Linked DNA regions of Homo sapiens: regions 1 and 3 are each linked to region 2. The links are contacts of gene promoters, found by promoter capture Hi-C in blood cells and fetal thymus (Javierre and others, 2016). All regions are on one chromosome and are shown on one strand. Each heading gives the region's core, a stretch centred on a gene start or on the middle of the fragment in contact. The rest is flanking DNA. Distances are from core to core; before and after follow the strand shown. Region 1 has its middle 64 kb from the start of HS3ST1. Region 2 holds the start of WDR1 (WD repeat domain 1). Region 3 holds the start of HS3ST1 (heparan sulfate-glucosamine 3-sulfotransferase 1).

Region 1 (4,646 bases), core at 508-3,007, 1.4 Mb after region 2:
CAATCTCGGCTCACTGCAACCTCTGTCTCCCAGGGTTGAGACAATTCTTGTACCTCAGCCTCCTGGGTTGTTGGGATTACAGCTGCTCACCATCACGCCTGGCTATTTTTGTGTGTGTGTGTGTGTGTGTGTGTGTGTGTGTGTGTGTGTCTATTTTTATTAGAGATGGTGTTTTGCCGTCTTGGCCAGGCTGGTCTCAAACTCCTGACCTCAAGTGATCCTCCTGCCTCAGCCTCCCAAAGTGCTGGGTTTACAGGCCAGAGCCACTGCGCCCAGCCTACTTATGCCTCTTGTTTCTACATTTCCAACCTTACTATCTGTTCTGATTTATCCCTTTTTAGGGGGTGATCATTCTTTTCATTCTTTTAACCCAATACAGATTATTTGCCCTGTAAAATGGCTTCATTAACAACATTCTCTAGACTTCCTGTTTCTACTGCCCTGTATTGATCTCACCACTTTCTGGTGGTCATGTCATCTTTTTTTTTTTATTTTCGTGTATGCTGGAGTACATTCTCAAGGAACTTCCTAAGAGTGTATGTGAGAAATAAACTTCATTCTTATCTTCCCTGACAATTTGGCTGTGTATAAAATTCTGGGTTGGAAACTGTTTGTCCCTTACATCTTGGAAATCCTTTCTCTGTTGTTTTCTGGCATCCAGTGTTCCTGATGTATTTGAAGATACCCTAACCTCTCCATAAGACTGTAGGTTCTTTGTTTTATCATTAGTGTTCTATTTTTTTTTTTTTTTTTTTTTGACTTGGGGTCTTTCCTTGTCACCCAGGCTGAAGTGCAGTGGTGCCATCTCAGCTCACGGCAACCTCCACCTCCCAGGTTCAAGCAATTCTTCTGTGTCAGCCTCCCAAGTAGCTGGGATTACAGGCATCCACCACCATGCCCAGCTAATTTTTGTGTTTTTAGTGGAGACAGGGTTTCAACATGTTGGCCAGGCTGGTCTGGAACTCCTGACCTCAGGTAAACCGCCTACGTCAGTCTCTCAAAGTGCTGGTATTATAGGTGTGAGCCACCACACCCAGCCTGAATTTTTTAAACGACATCCCTAATGAGAGCTTTCAAAAAACCATCTCGTTTGGCACTTAGTGGGCCTTTTCCTTTTTACTGGCATCATATTTGCTGAAGGGTTAACAAATAATTGAATCTACTCTTTCGAAGTACAGTTTAAGCTTTCATAAAGGTATACTATCATGTATTCATCACCAACTGATGATATAGAATATTTCTAGCAACACCAAGAGTTCCCTCTTGCTCCTTCTTAATTGATCTCAACTCCTCATCTCCAATTTCTGACAACCACTAACCTTATTTCCATCTCTTTATTTTGTCTTTGCCAGAATGTGACATAAATAGACTCAAACAGTATACAGACCTTTGTGTCTCACTTCTTTCACATAATACTTTTGAGATTTATTCATGTTGTTGAATATATCAGTAGCTTGTTTCTTATTATTACTGTAGTATTCCATTATTGTTTATTGTTACTGTAGCATTCCATTGTTGGTATGTACCAAAATTTATTTATCCAATCACCAACTGATGATTTGATGGTCCTTTGAGTTGCTTCTTGATATCATATAAAGATGCTATAAACTTTTATTTACAGGTGTTTGTGTGGCCAGATATTTTGACTTCTCTTGGGCAAATAACTAGGAGTGAGACTCTTGGGTCATCTGGTAATTACTTATTTATGTTTATAAGGTATCGACAATTATTTTTTCTAAAGAGGCTGTACTGTTTTATATTTCTACTTGCAGTGCATGAAAGTATAAGTTTGTCTGAATATTCATCAACAGTTAGTATTTTCCATTTTTCCCTATTTATTTTTTAATATTAACTATTCTAGTGGAAGTGTGGTTGTATCTTATTGTGGATGGGACATTTTCCATTTGAAGATTTCCATTTCCTTCAGTTCTACACACTTTTCTTGTATTATATCTTTGGCAATATCCTTCCCTGTCTTGTCGCTATTACTCTTGTCCAGGATTCCTTTTATTCAATGCCGGGACCACTGGATTTGTTTCTTCTCTTACGTTCTTCTCTATCTTTTTATATCTAAGTTCTGTGCAATTTCTTTGACTTTACCTTTAGCCCATGTATTTTTTCCCTTTAATTTTACATGTAGTATTTTTTAACCCCCAAGAAGTCTTGTTATCTTACAATTTCTTTTTTTCCAACGCCCTATTCTGGTTTTTTGAAGGCAAGTTGTCCTCAAATTTTTGTCAAGATGTGAATTGGAATCTGTTTCCTGATTAGAGCAATCTATTTCTCCTTGAGTCTTTATTTCTCAATTATTTATCTTCGTCTTCCTCCATCAAGCTTTCTTCATATTTCCTGTATTATCTTTTCACATTAAGGAATTAGGCAAAAGGAGGCTTCCTGGAAGTTCCATGTAAAAATGAACAAGGCGGGCCGGGCGCAGTGGCTCACATTTGTAATCCCAGAGCACTTTGGGAGGCTGAGGTTGGTGGATCACCTGAGATCAGAAGTTCAAGACCAGCCTGGCCAACGTGGTGAAATGCCATCTCTACTAAAAATACAAAAAAAAAAAAAAAAAAATTATCTGGGCCTGGTGGCAGATGCCTGTAATCCCAGCTACTTGGGAGGCTGAGGCAGGAGAATTGCTTGAACCTGGGAGGCAGAGGTTGCAGTCAGCTGAGATTGCACCACTGCACAAGGCAAACAGAACAACAGACCTTGCTTTAATTTGTCTCCTTTCCTGTTCATTTGTACATATATATAAAAAAAGGCAAGAGCTCTGGTTTAAATCATTGAACATCCAGCTGCAAAGGGGGAAATGCTGCAGTGGATATCTATTAAGAATCAGCTATGTTCCTAAACCCTTTCAAATAATAGCAATACATGAACAGTTATCTAGTGCTTATAATTTTCAAGACCACCTTCCAAACACTTCATTTATTTAATCCTCACAAGAACGCTGTCAGAAATGCCTATTACTATTATTCCTCTTTAGAGATGTGGAAATTGGCACACAGAGAGGTTAAGTAATGTGTCTAAGGTTGCACAGCTGATCAGTGGCAAAGCTGGGTTTGAAAGACAGTGGTTTTGATCCATTGTCTTTGCTGCTAGGCAGTGTTCTAGACTGGCTCTTAGACATCGACTTTCTCCCTGAATCCCTCTAACAAATTGGTGAGGTGGCCATTATCATTGCCACTTTATAAAAGAGATTTCTGAGGCCCAGAGAGATCGAATGACAAACTTGATTCCCCAAAGTCAGATGAGTAGAATCTGTCTGACTCCAAAGCCTGAATTCTATTGCCTCAGATTTGTCCAAAGAATGATAATTTTAAATACTTACAAATGAAGATTTCTTGACAATTAAATCAATGTTTATTTGAAGTAGGGTAACATATGAACTCAATATTTTGTTTTAAATGATAAAAACAACAAAAAAATCTTGTTACTAATGATCTGTGAGAACTGTCTCTTTTACTTTGGAATGAACAATTAAGATTTAACATATCAATTATGTTGTTTCTCAATAACATAACGGATCAATAACCTTCATTTTGTGTTCTTCTTAATTACTGCATTGGGGTTTCTGCAGAGATATTCTGAACCAGATCTTGTGTATTAATCTTTGCACATAGTCCTTGTTCCTCACAATGGAGCAATCAGCCCTTGATTAATGTTAGCATTAAACTAACTGCTATCTAATCAGTTGACAAAATGCCGGTTTTGACTCTGGTTTTCTGTGGTCTGTTTGTTTCTGATGTTTCTGATTGGTGTTTGCTATGGGGAAGAATAAAGAAATACGACATACATTATTCATTGAAGTGAATAGAAGGGTTTTTTTTGATATTCCCTCAGGCTTTGACAGAATGACAGAGCAGTAACTCAAGGCCTAAATGTAAACCATCACCCTCCCTGCCCTGCTATTTTTTGAAGAATAGCGAATTTAAACCAATCATCCAATAAGTAAAATGTCCCTCTAGAATCCCACATCATAAAAAATGATACCAACAGCTGCCAAATTGCCCATGAAAAAAAAAGAAGACTGTTAGTGAATGTTTGTTCTTTGCCTTGTATTCCTTCCAGATTCTTTCAGATCCTTACATTGTCCTTTCTCCCCCTATTTAAAAATAATACTTAACCATCTTTTTCTTCATCTATTTCCTGCTTTTGTAGTCATCCATCCCTACTTCTGTCCTATCTCCATCCATCAGTCTGCCACATTGGAGCAGAATGAGCTTCCAAATACACAGCTTCAGATCACCTGCCACATGGTCAAAATTCTCCAGTGGCTCTCTAGAGTCCCCACTAGCTTTTCAGAGCCCTAGGGTTGAATGAGGGTGTCTCAGAGGTCCAGAAGTTCCTGAGTGGAAAGACTTCTGCCCTGTTTAAAATGAGCATTTCTATTTGTATCTGCCTGTTGTGTAGAAATTCTGAATAATACATTATTAGATAAGTAAAACAAAAGGTTATACAACTAAAAAGGCTTGAAAACTATTGGTCTATAGGAGAAAATCTGCACTCCATCCTATGACATACATATCCCATACAGTGACCTAGGAGGTTATTAGTGAAGAGTCCCCCATCTTCCTGTCAATCCATGTTGTGCTGCCTATGCCAGCTCACCCTTTAAAAATTTAAAATTGATCTGATTTACT
Region 2 (4,420 bases), core at 1,298-3,797:
GGCAAACCACGGGGAAGGGGTAAGAATACAGAGCTCAGAAACAGGCAGAATGGGTTTCACAAGCTGGGAAATGCTTTCTGCAAAGGGGTGCCTGTCCCTGAATGACCACTCCATTAGAAGCAGCTCCAGTTACTGGCCTGCCTCACCTTGCTAAGTCTGACTCCTCTTTAGAGTAACGGACCCATGTGGGGTGGAAAGAGATGCTACAGTTTAAGAAGCTATCACAGGGCCAGATGCACAGCAGGTACTTTATGTGAGGCCCCCTCCCTGGAAGTCAATGTGGACTGCAACGACAGGGAAGGCCTGGTTAGGGGCAAAACGAAATATCCTACTGCTCTGTATCCGAGGACGTGTTAGTGGATTTTATTTGCCAAACTACTAAATATCTCTTTAGGGTTGTCTCAATTTTTATTTTCTCAAAAGCCTCAGGACCTGCCTTCGGAGACTTCCAGATCATTACCATTAGATCCCTGGTGATTTTCTCCAGTTCTAAGCAAGGCCCTTCGGCTTTCTAGGAATCTGTGTGACTAGCAAGTTGTTAGCACCTTCAAAGCACATTCACACCCGCCCACCCCCTCATTTGAGGGGCCCAGCAATCCAGGGCAGGTAGAGCTCTGTCTTCCAGCAGAGGAACAGCAGCGACTGCCTGGGTTAACGAGACAGATGCGGGCAGAGCCAGCAGCTCTTCGGACCAAGAGGCTTCTCCTTTCACAGAGAAGGAAACTGAGACCCAGAGACCCCTTCATTCCCTCAGCCAGTTGCTGGCCTCCTGGAGGGCAAGTGTGTCCGATCAACAGTCCCAACCTACCAAGGGAAATCAGGCTGACTTTAAGTTGACAACCCTTGTATGCCTATGGCATCAATCAAAACATACATCTTTGTGCCAGCCGCCCCCACTAAGCACAGCACAGGAGAAATCACCCAATGGCCGGGCCGGCACCTCCAACTCCCACCCCACCAATTCCATCACTCAGGCTGAGGAAGGGAAAAGCAAAATTTAAGCGTGTAACCCAGGAAGGGAGGGAGACTGACAGACTGGGTCACCCCAACAATTACAGAGGAATAACATGAATTTGCAAGGATTTCCCAAGGAGCTGGCTCTAGAAGCCTTTTCAGCCTGGGTACCGGAGGCTTGCAGAGAATGATTCATGGGAAAACACTGCTTCCTGTTTTTGCTTTGGGGCTTAGATCCATGGTGGCAGATCTGGCTGGCCCAGAGGCCCGGGTGTTTTTCCGGGCTCTGCCATACTGGAAGACCAGGGTATTAACAGCGAGTTAGCTGAGTGCCATTCCATTCAGCAAGGGCTCAAAGTGCACCAGGCACCGCTGGGCTTGAGGGACGCCAGCAGCTCATTCATTCCATCTGCCCAGCCAGCAGGCGAAGCGAGAGTGGTCATCATCTCATCATCTGTTTTACAGACGAGAAAACTGGGGCTCAGAGATGCCCAAATCGCCAATCTTCTCAAGGTCACGCAGCGGCCGACCGGGTCAGTCTGATCCCTCAAATCCGGAGCCCTTGCTTTTAAGGAATGAACTAATCTAATCTCCCATCCACGTACTAACCAGGCCTGACCGTGCTTAGCTTCCAAGATCAGAGGCGATCCGGCGCTTTCAGGGTGCTATGACCGTAGACAGAAACGAACTAAGACTCAGTTTCCTCATCAAGAAGGAGCAGACAAGGACCTGGGTGAATCTGAGGCCGGCTTCCGGGGCTCCGAGGTGTGGCTCCCGGTAGAGGGGGCGTGGCGCCCTCACCCTCCCCGGGCCAATGGGCAGGAGGTGAGAAGTGGAGAGGAAGGCGAATTATCCCATCCCAAGGTGGCTCCGGAGCAGAACCGCGCCCGGGGTAGGGGGTACTCACGTCGATGTTCCTTAGGATGACGCACTTTCCATTGGTGTACAGAAAATTGTTGCCCTTAGGGTCGCCGCCGATGATCTTGGAGACGCCCCTCTCCACCTGCGGGAGGCTGGCGAACACCTTCTCTGCGGAGACACAAATGCGGCGGGGCATGTCAGGGCAGGGCGGGGACGGCGGGGACAGAAGGGAGAAGGAGCCCCGGACCGGTCTCGGCCGGTCACCTGTTGACTGCGCCGGGAGGGCGGCCTCCACTTTCCACGAGCGCCAGGAACCGCGCGACTTCCTGGTCCGCGCCCCGGGCCAGGCCCTTGGGGGCAGCGGGGCTCCTCCGGCTCGGCCCACGGCGCCAACTTGGGGGCGCACCCCCCGTCGGGGGTCCCGCCCTGCACCACCGAGGGCGGCCCCGCCACGCCTCCGGCCGGCGCCCGCACCCCTCCCCCGCGCCGAGGACTCCCCCGCCACCCGCACGGCGCCTAGGGGCCGGGGACCGGGGCCGGGGCAGCGCGGCGGCCGCTCGGGGGCCCCGCGCCGCGGCACTTACTGATCTCGTACGGCATCCTCGCCCACTTGTTACCGCGCCGCGCTCGCCGAGAGCCTCCGGGGCCGGCCCGCGCTGCGAATTACACCTCGCCGAGGCCGAGCCCGGGGACTGGAGCCGGAAGGCGGCACCGGGCGTGCCGGGAGTGGAGTGGGCGGTCCGAGGCCGGGGCTCAGAGGCCAGCTCGCGCCTGCCCTGCGCGCTGTGGTTGCGGACGCCCCGAACCCGGAAGCGCGGTCCCGCGCGCGGCTCGCCCCCAGCTTTGACCATATATAGTCAAGCGCTCGGCTCGGCGGCTGCGGTCCCGGCGAGCCTGCGCGGACCTGGCGCTCCCCTCCCCCGCCGGCCCCGGCCCCGCCTCCGCCTTGCTCGCCCCGCCCCGGAAGTGACGTATAGCACGCCCCGCGGGCCCTTGAAAAGGCGGCGCAGACAAGCAGCCGCGTCAGAATGCTTCTGGGAGTCGGGGGGTGGGTGCCTTTCTGTTGCTAGCTTGTAGGAGAAGCTGGGCTGTAGGAAGTTTATTTGCGGGGGGGTCTTAAAGACGCTGAAAGTACTGGCGGGCTTTGGTGGGGGTCTGGAAAAACCTCTCTGTACCTGTGACCGCGTTGCGTGGCGGGCGCTCCCCGGCCTCTCCTTTTTGACCGGTCCCGGGCGTTGCCCAGCCGCCAGTCCTCCTGCTCGGGTTTTGTAAGCAGGAGAGGGATGCTTTTTACGTCTTCTTAAAGTACGGTTAAGTGCCCTTGCTTGAAGTAGTTGCTGGCAACAAGAACGTAGGGGTTACTCTTTGTTGGGCCTGAACTCGTGCTTTTTCTCTCAAAAGTTGAGCTTTTGAAAGGCAAAAAAGGCGTGGGGGATGGGGGAGCTGTCGGTCTTAAGGAAGTTAAAGGTTATTTCCTAAACAAAACAAGTCTCACTCCTAAAACCAGGGTAGTGGCTCAGTTGTGGCGGGAGAGCAGGGGCTGTAAAGTGTCCAAGTTTCTAGTCTCATCTTTCAGTAGGATGGGTACAAGCTTTCCCCTTGGGGCTCTGGGGGCTGGGAGGGTTGTAAAAGTGGGAGAAAGCAAAGTATTTGGCGGGGTGCGGGCGGGTAGCTGAATGTTGTTGTAAGTGGAAGAGGAATGCTGTTGGCGTCTTTCTCTAAGCACGGTTAAGTGCTTTTTCTTGAAGTAGTTACTGGCAACAAGAACGTAAGGGTTACTCTTTGTTAGGCCTGAACTCGTGCTTTTTCTCAAAAGTTTAGCTTTTGAAAGGCAAAAGTGGGGGTGGGGGCGCTGCTGCTTTTAAGGAAGTTAAAGGTTATTTCCTAAGAAAGCAAAACAAGCCCCACTTGTAAAACCCGGGTAGTGGCTCAGCTGGAGAGCAGGCGCTGTGAAGTGTACAAGTTTCTAGTCTCATCTTTCAGTAGAATGGGTACAAGCTTTCCCTCGGGGCTCTGGGGGTGGGAGGGTTGTAAAAGTGGGAGAAAGCAAAGTACGTGGGTGGGGGGTAGCTAAATGTTGTTGTAAGCGGGAGATGGATGCTTTTGGCGTCTTTAAGCACGGTTAACTGCCCTTGAAGTAGTTGCTGGCAACAACGTAGGGGTTACTCTGCTGGGCCTGAACTTGTGCTGTTTCTCTCTCTCAAAAGTTAAGGTTTTTAAAAGGCAAAGGCGTGGGGAGAGGGGTAGGGGAGCTGCTACTTCTAAGGACGTTAAGGGTTACTTCAGAGCAAAACAAGCCCCACTTCTAAAACCAGGGCAGTGGCTCAATTGTGGAAGGGAGAGCAGGGAATGTGAAGTGTCCAAGCTTCTAGTCTCGTCTTTCAGTAGCGTGGGTACAAGTTTTCCATTGGGGCTCTGGGGGCTAGGAGGGTGGTAAAAGTGGGAGAAACCAAAGTACTTGCGGGTAGCTAAAAACTCTGAAACCCACGCTGTGAGCGGTTCCTGCTTCTCTGAAAGGTCTGTTCTGCTTAAGGTTGTATCAAGGTTAGTCTCTTGCTACCTACTTCTGTAGAGCAGTCTCTCGTGGCTCACCTGGGTTAGTGGC
Region 3 (4,327 bases), core at 537-3,036, 1.3 Mb after region 2:
CTTTTTTTTTTAAAGATGGAATTCCTGGAATTAACCCTTGGGTGGAAGCATTTCAACAAAATAAAATGAGATTTGCCTGCAAAGCGAGAACGCACGGGTGGGAATGAAGGATCCTGCCTGTGCCAGGCTGCTGCCTCAGCAGTGTCCAAGCACCCAGCGCCTGAAAGCGGGAGCGTGGGGACTCGTCTGGGGACCCTCTTCCGGGGCTACTGGCGGGAGGCGCAGCCGAGCTGGTGGTGGCGGGGTTTCCCTCCGGGGCTAGGGCTGAGGGAGGAGAAGAGGGCGGACTGGCTCCTTCCGTTCTCGGCCACCCTCCCCGCCACTCCTTGAGGCTGCTCCATGCTAACAGGAGACTGTTTCTCGGAGCGCAGCGCAAAGACAGTGGATTTGGAGTGGCCTCCCTAGAATCCCCCCAAAAGCATCTTGGCACAAGTTGTAGATAAAAATAGCTCATGATAACATTGTGGGAAAGGGAGGAGCGAGACTCGCGCAAGGCGAGGCAAGGGTACCACTGGATCTGCAAAGGAGGAGGAAGAGGGAGGATGCAACCCTTGGCCCAAGAGAGCGCCCTGAGTGTGCGAGGAATCGCTGGCTCCCAGGGGAGGGAAAGAGATGGAAGACCTATAGCGCCTATAACTGCAGAGTTATAGACCTATAACTGCAGAGCCCAGCACACCCCATCCCGCGCCGGCACCCGGCTTTGGCTCCAGCTTCTTCTTCCCATCATCCGCCTACGTTCTGGGTCTGTCCTCCGCTTCCTGGGACAGGCTGGGGCTAGAAGGAGGAGCAGCGCGCCGTCCGCCCCCTGGCTGGTAGAGCGCACCTGGAGAGGTCAAGCTCCGCGAATAAGACCCTTCCTGGGAGCTGGGGTCTAGGCGTTCCAACCGCGGGTTCGCACCCCGCCATCCCTCACCTCCATCCGCTGCCACTACCCAAGGGCCCGGAAATAGAAAACCACGAAGGGGGAAAAAAATCAGTAAAAAGTAACAAGAAAAAAATCAAGACCCTCATGTAATTGGCATTAGGGATGAGAGGTTTATTGTCAGGGCTGTCACCTCAATCTCTCTCTTTGGGAGATGCCTATCTCCAACCAAATGCAAAGGCAAACCCGACCAAGGCTTCTCCACCCCCAAAGGCTCCCTCAGCCGAGTTACTTTTGCGGGCTGTGTCCTCGCCCCAGTTTCTGGCCCCAGGTGGTACCCAGGATCCGTTGAGTGCTGCGCTCTCGCTGCCCTACAGGGTCCTATGGTGAAGCTGCGGTCGCGAAGCGGCCGGCAGGAGCGAACCTCACGACTCTGCAGGGGGGGAAAACATCCAACCCAGTAAGAGTCAGAAATCTGGGTCCCTGTCCTTACAGATCAACCGGTCCCTCGGGACTTCCAGAGCAGAGGTGCTAGGGCAGGAGGTGAGGAGGATGGGAAAATCCCCAGCCTTTGCTTCCTGGTTCCCTCTGCATCCACTCCACCTGCTCCAGCCTCGATTCTTCTTAGGTTCTGCACTTGCCCGAAGTCCAGAACGCCAGACAAAGGCACCTCGGAGCCCTCTACACCTGCGTCCTGCCACTCTCCCACCCCGCGCGCGCCGCACTCACCTGAGCCGCGCCTCTGTCCAGCCCGTCCGGCGCCCTAAATAGGCTCCTAGGCTGGGCCATGGGCAGCACTGCCGAGCACCCGCGGCGGGTAGAGCAAGTTTCTGGATGGCCCGGGGCAGGCGGGCGGGGAGAAGGCGCAGGCACCCACTGAGACCCGGCTGTCGTGGCGGCGACTCCTGGCTGCCAGGGCGCAGAGGACCTTGCAGGCGGGCGTTTTGGTGCTCAATCCCGAGGAGGGGGAGGAGCGGGAGGAGGAGCGGGAGCAAAAGGAGGGGACGGAGGAGGCCGGGCCCGGAGGGAGAGCGCGTTGGGCAGAGGAGGATCGCGAGCGCCCACTGCTGCCCGGCCCGCTCGGGTGCCGCCCAGAGTCCGGCCCGCTAGGTGCCTGGTGCTCCGCTCTGCGCTCAGCTGCTCCGCACAGCCCCGCCTGGCACGCAGCTCCAGCGGCTGGTCGGGTAGTAGTCGGTCCCGCCCACCCGGTGCGGTGGCCCCTGGGGTTTCAGTCCAAGGGGAGGGACCAGCGCTCCAAGAAGGTGAGGCTGCTGGGATGGGTGACTCCGCCGTCACTGCAAACACGGGACGTCCCGTCTACTCCCTTACGCCTGCTTGGTCTGAGCCCGAGTCTACCTCTTCTCTAAGTCGCCAGCTCGGCACTTGTACCCGGGACCTGTGCTCCTCCCACGTGAGTCTGCACCATGCGTATTCCCTTCCTGGCAGGTGACCCACCTTAGGCGCTGGCGCTCCTTCCGCCCCCCGGGAAGCAGGAGGTGCCATCCTCTCCAATTCGCTCTGCAGCCGGACTGGGACCGGAGCGGCGGCCTGGGCCAGAATCCGCGTGAGGAGCCGGCTTCAAAGAGCGCCCTGTCGCCATTGAACACTCCTTTTCCTTTGGTTTAGCGTCGGAGAGCGGACGCCAATTTGCCAGGAGAGCGCGGAAAATTCAGCTTTTTTTTTTTTTTTTTTTTTTTTTTTTTTCCGCTAGTGCACTAGGATTGCAAACGTCAGCTCTGAAATAAAAAGCAGGATATTTCTGCCCCGCTCCTCTATTCCGGAAGCTGGGAGGTTCTGTGGGAGAAAGGACCTGCACCCAATAACTCAATTTAAGATTTAAGGTTTTGAGGGGCGTGGGGTTGGAATCGCCTTGGAGAAACGGGTTTGCCTGCTTACCTGAGCCAAAGGAAGTTGCCCTCAAAGGCAGGTCAGCAATCATACCCCGCCAAAAGCAAATGCACATCAAAGTAACTTCCTTTAAATGAGATTACTGTAGTTTCCATGTCTTCCACATTAGTAAATAAATATTTGGAAGACTTCGAATTTGTGATTTACGTTTAAATATATTTCACCAACATTGTTTAATTAAAAAAAAATCCCATCTAAGAGAAGGTTCCTATAGGAAATTGGCCCTTTAACTCATACACAGATTACCCTCGGCACTTTCAGAAAACAACACAGTGACCAGTATATTCTGTCTTTTTGATACAGCCAGAAGCACCCTGAAAGCTGAGACCTAACTGTGCTTTTGGAAAATAAGCTTTTAGGAGTTGAATGACCTTGTCTACTTCTTTTAGTCAGAATAATGTTGGCATGTCTATTTTAGGTTAAAAAAAAATACAAATTCTAAAAAGTGACTTTAAAGGCCCACTTTGAAAGCCTTAGCATTTAAACTAACATTAGATTTAAAAGAAGGGCTTTTCTCCCCCATTATAGGAAGCTGTGTAAAATCATGTGTGAGGTTGTGAGGGTCAAATGGAAGTCTAAGATAAAGTTCTGCCAATTACTGGTGTCTTTAAGCTTCCACCAGCAGCCAAGCACAGTGCAGATCATGAGTCCTTCAAAATACGGGGTGGTTTTAATGCTCTAAGTTGGTATGATTACTTTTTCTAAAGAGCTCAAAGTGCTTTGGTGCCATAGTATGAATTTCATTACCCATTGTGAGACACAAAGGGGGTTAGCAATGATTCTGTTTGCACCCTGGAAGCCAAAGGCAGGTTACTCACCCACTTAGTTCCCTACCACAAGACCTTGAAAGAAACTGGAACCCCAGGTCTCCAGCCCAGAGATTTTGTTGGAAGTTTCCATTTGCAGGAAATGACTGCAGGGCACATGTGGGAAGTGACAGGAATTTGAGGACTAACATTTTAGTTTTCCTCATTTCTTTTTAAATCTGAGCAATTGTTCATTGATCGATAATCTATGTTCTTACATTCAGATAAATAAAAACACCAACTGGCTATTTTGTTCTTACTTAGTTTTATGTGTATGTCCAGGCATTTGCCACTGCTCCTAAATAGCTCTCCCTGAAGTCTTCTGGTCATGAGTTAGGTTTCTTATCCAGAAGCTCATGTAGTGCCAGAGCTTAGCTCTCCTATGACAACACAATCACATTATTGAAACATCTATTTAGGGATCTGTCTTCTCTAATAGATTATAAACGCCTTGAGCTTGGGTATCGTGATTTAATGATGAATCCTCCATGGTATCTGAATCCCAGAATCCTACAATCCTGCATGGTATCTGAAACATACTATGCTCTTAAAAAAAAAAAAAAAAAACTTTGTAAATGGAACTTCCCTCAAGGAGTCAGGGTTTAAGTCAAACATGTTTCCCTTTCAAAGCCGTGGGCATGAGAATAGAGGCTGTTAGGAGACACAGTAGTAGTTGACTGCAAAAGTGTCTGTCAGTCAGTTGTGTGGCCCAAGACTCTTTTTATCAGTTCCAACAACTGAAAAATGAGAG

Evidence for each region. Contacts are between HindIII fragments. The CHiCAGO score rates a contact against its expected background, and 5 or more counts as called.
Region 1: a contact is called between a fragment that was not itself captured here and the fragment with the promoter of WDR1 in region 2, in 1 of 17 cell types (M0 macrophages). The highest score is 5.2, in M0 macrophages.
Region 3: a contact is called between the fragment with the promoter of HS3ST1 here and the fragment with the promoter of WDR1 in region 2, in 6 of 17 cell types (M0 macrophages, fetal thymus, naive B cells and 3 more). The highest score is 11.4, in M0 macrophages.

Annotation. Positions count from the first base shown.
Region 1 is chr4:11,490,614-11,495,259 of GRCh38, forward strand. No RefSeq gene overlaps it. Among named protein-coding and RNA genes, the nearest start is that of HS3ST1, 64 kb to the left of the region's middle. The HindIII fragment of the contact is 1,150 bases long and covers 1,183-2,332 here.
Region 2 is chr4:10,114,252-10,118,671 of GRCh38, forward strand. It overlaps WDR1 (WD repeat domain 1), which reads right to left and starts at 2,548. Exons shown (of 15, transcript NM_017491.5): 1 at 2,400-2,548; 2 at 1,862-1,983. The coding sequence starts at 2,415. LOC124900666 (a long non-coding RNA gene) reads left to right here and starts at 2,838. Exons shown (of 2, transcript XR_007058030.1): 1 at 2,838-4,420. It also overlaps the pseudogene RNA5SP155. RefSeq lists enhancers at 1,405-2,209, 1,860-2,009, 3,780-3,879, 3,960-4,049 and silencers at 2,090-2,239, 2,320-2,729, 2,740-2,859. The HindIII fragment of the contact is 9,752 bases long and covers 1-3,404 here.
Region 3 is chr4:11,427,108-11,431,434 of GRCh38, forward strand. It overlaps HS3ST1 (heparan sulfate-glucosamine 3-sulfotransferase 1), which reads right to left and starts at 1,787. Exons shown (of 2, transcript NM_005114.4): 1 at 1,592-1,787. RefSeq lists an enhancer at 1,443-1,662 and a silencer at 1,753-1,932. The HindIII fragment of the contact is 3,893 bases long and covers 1-3,120 here.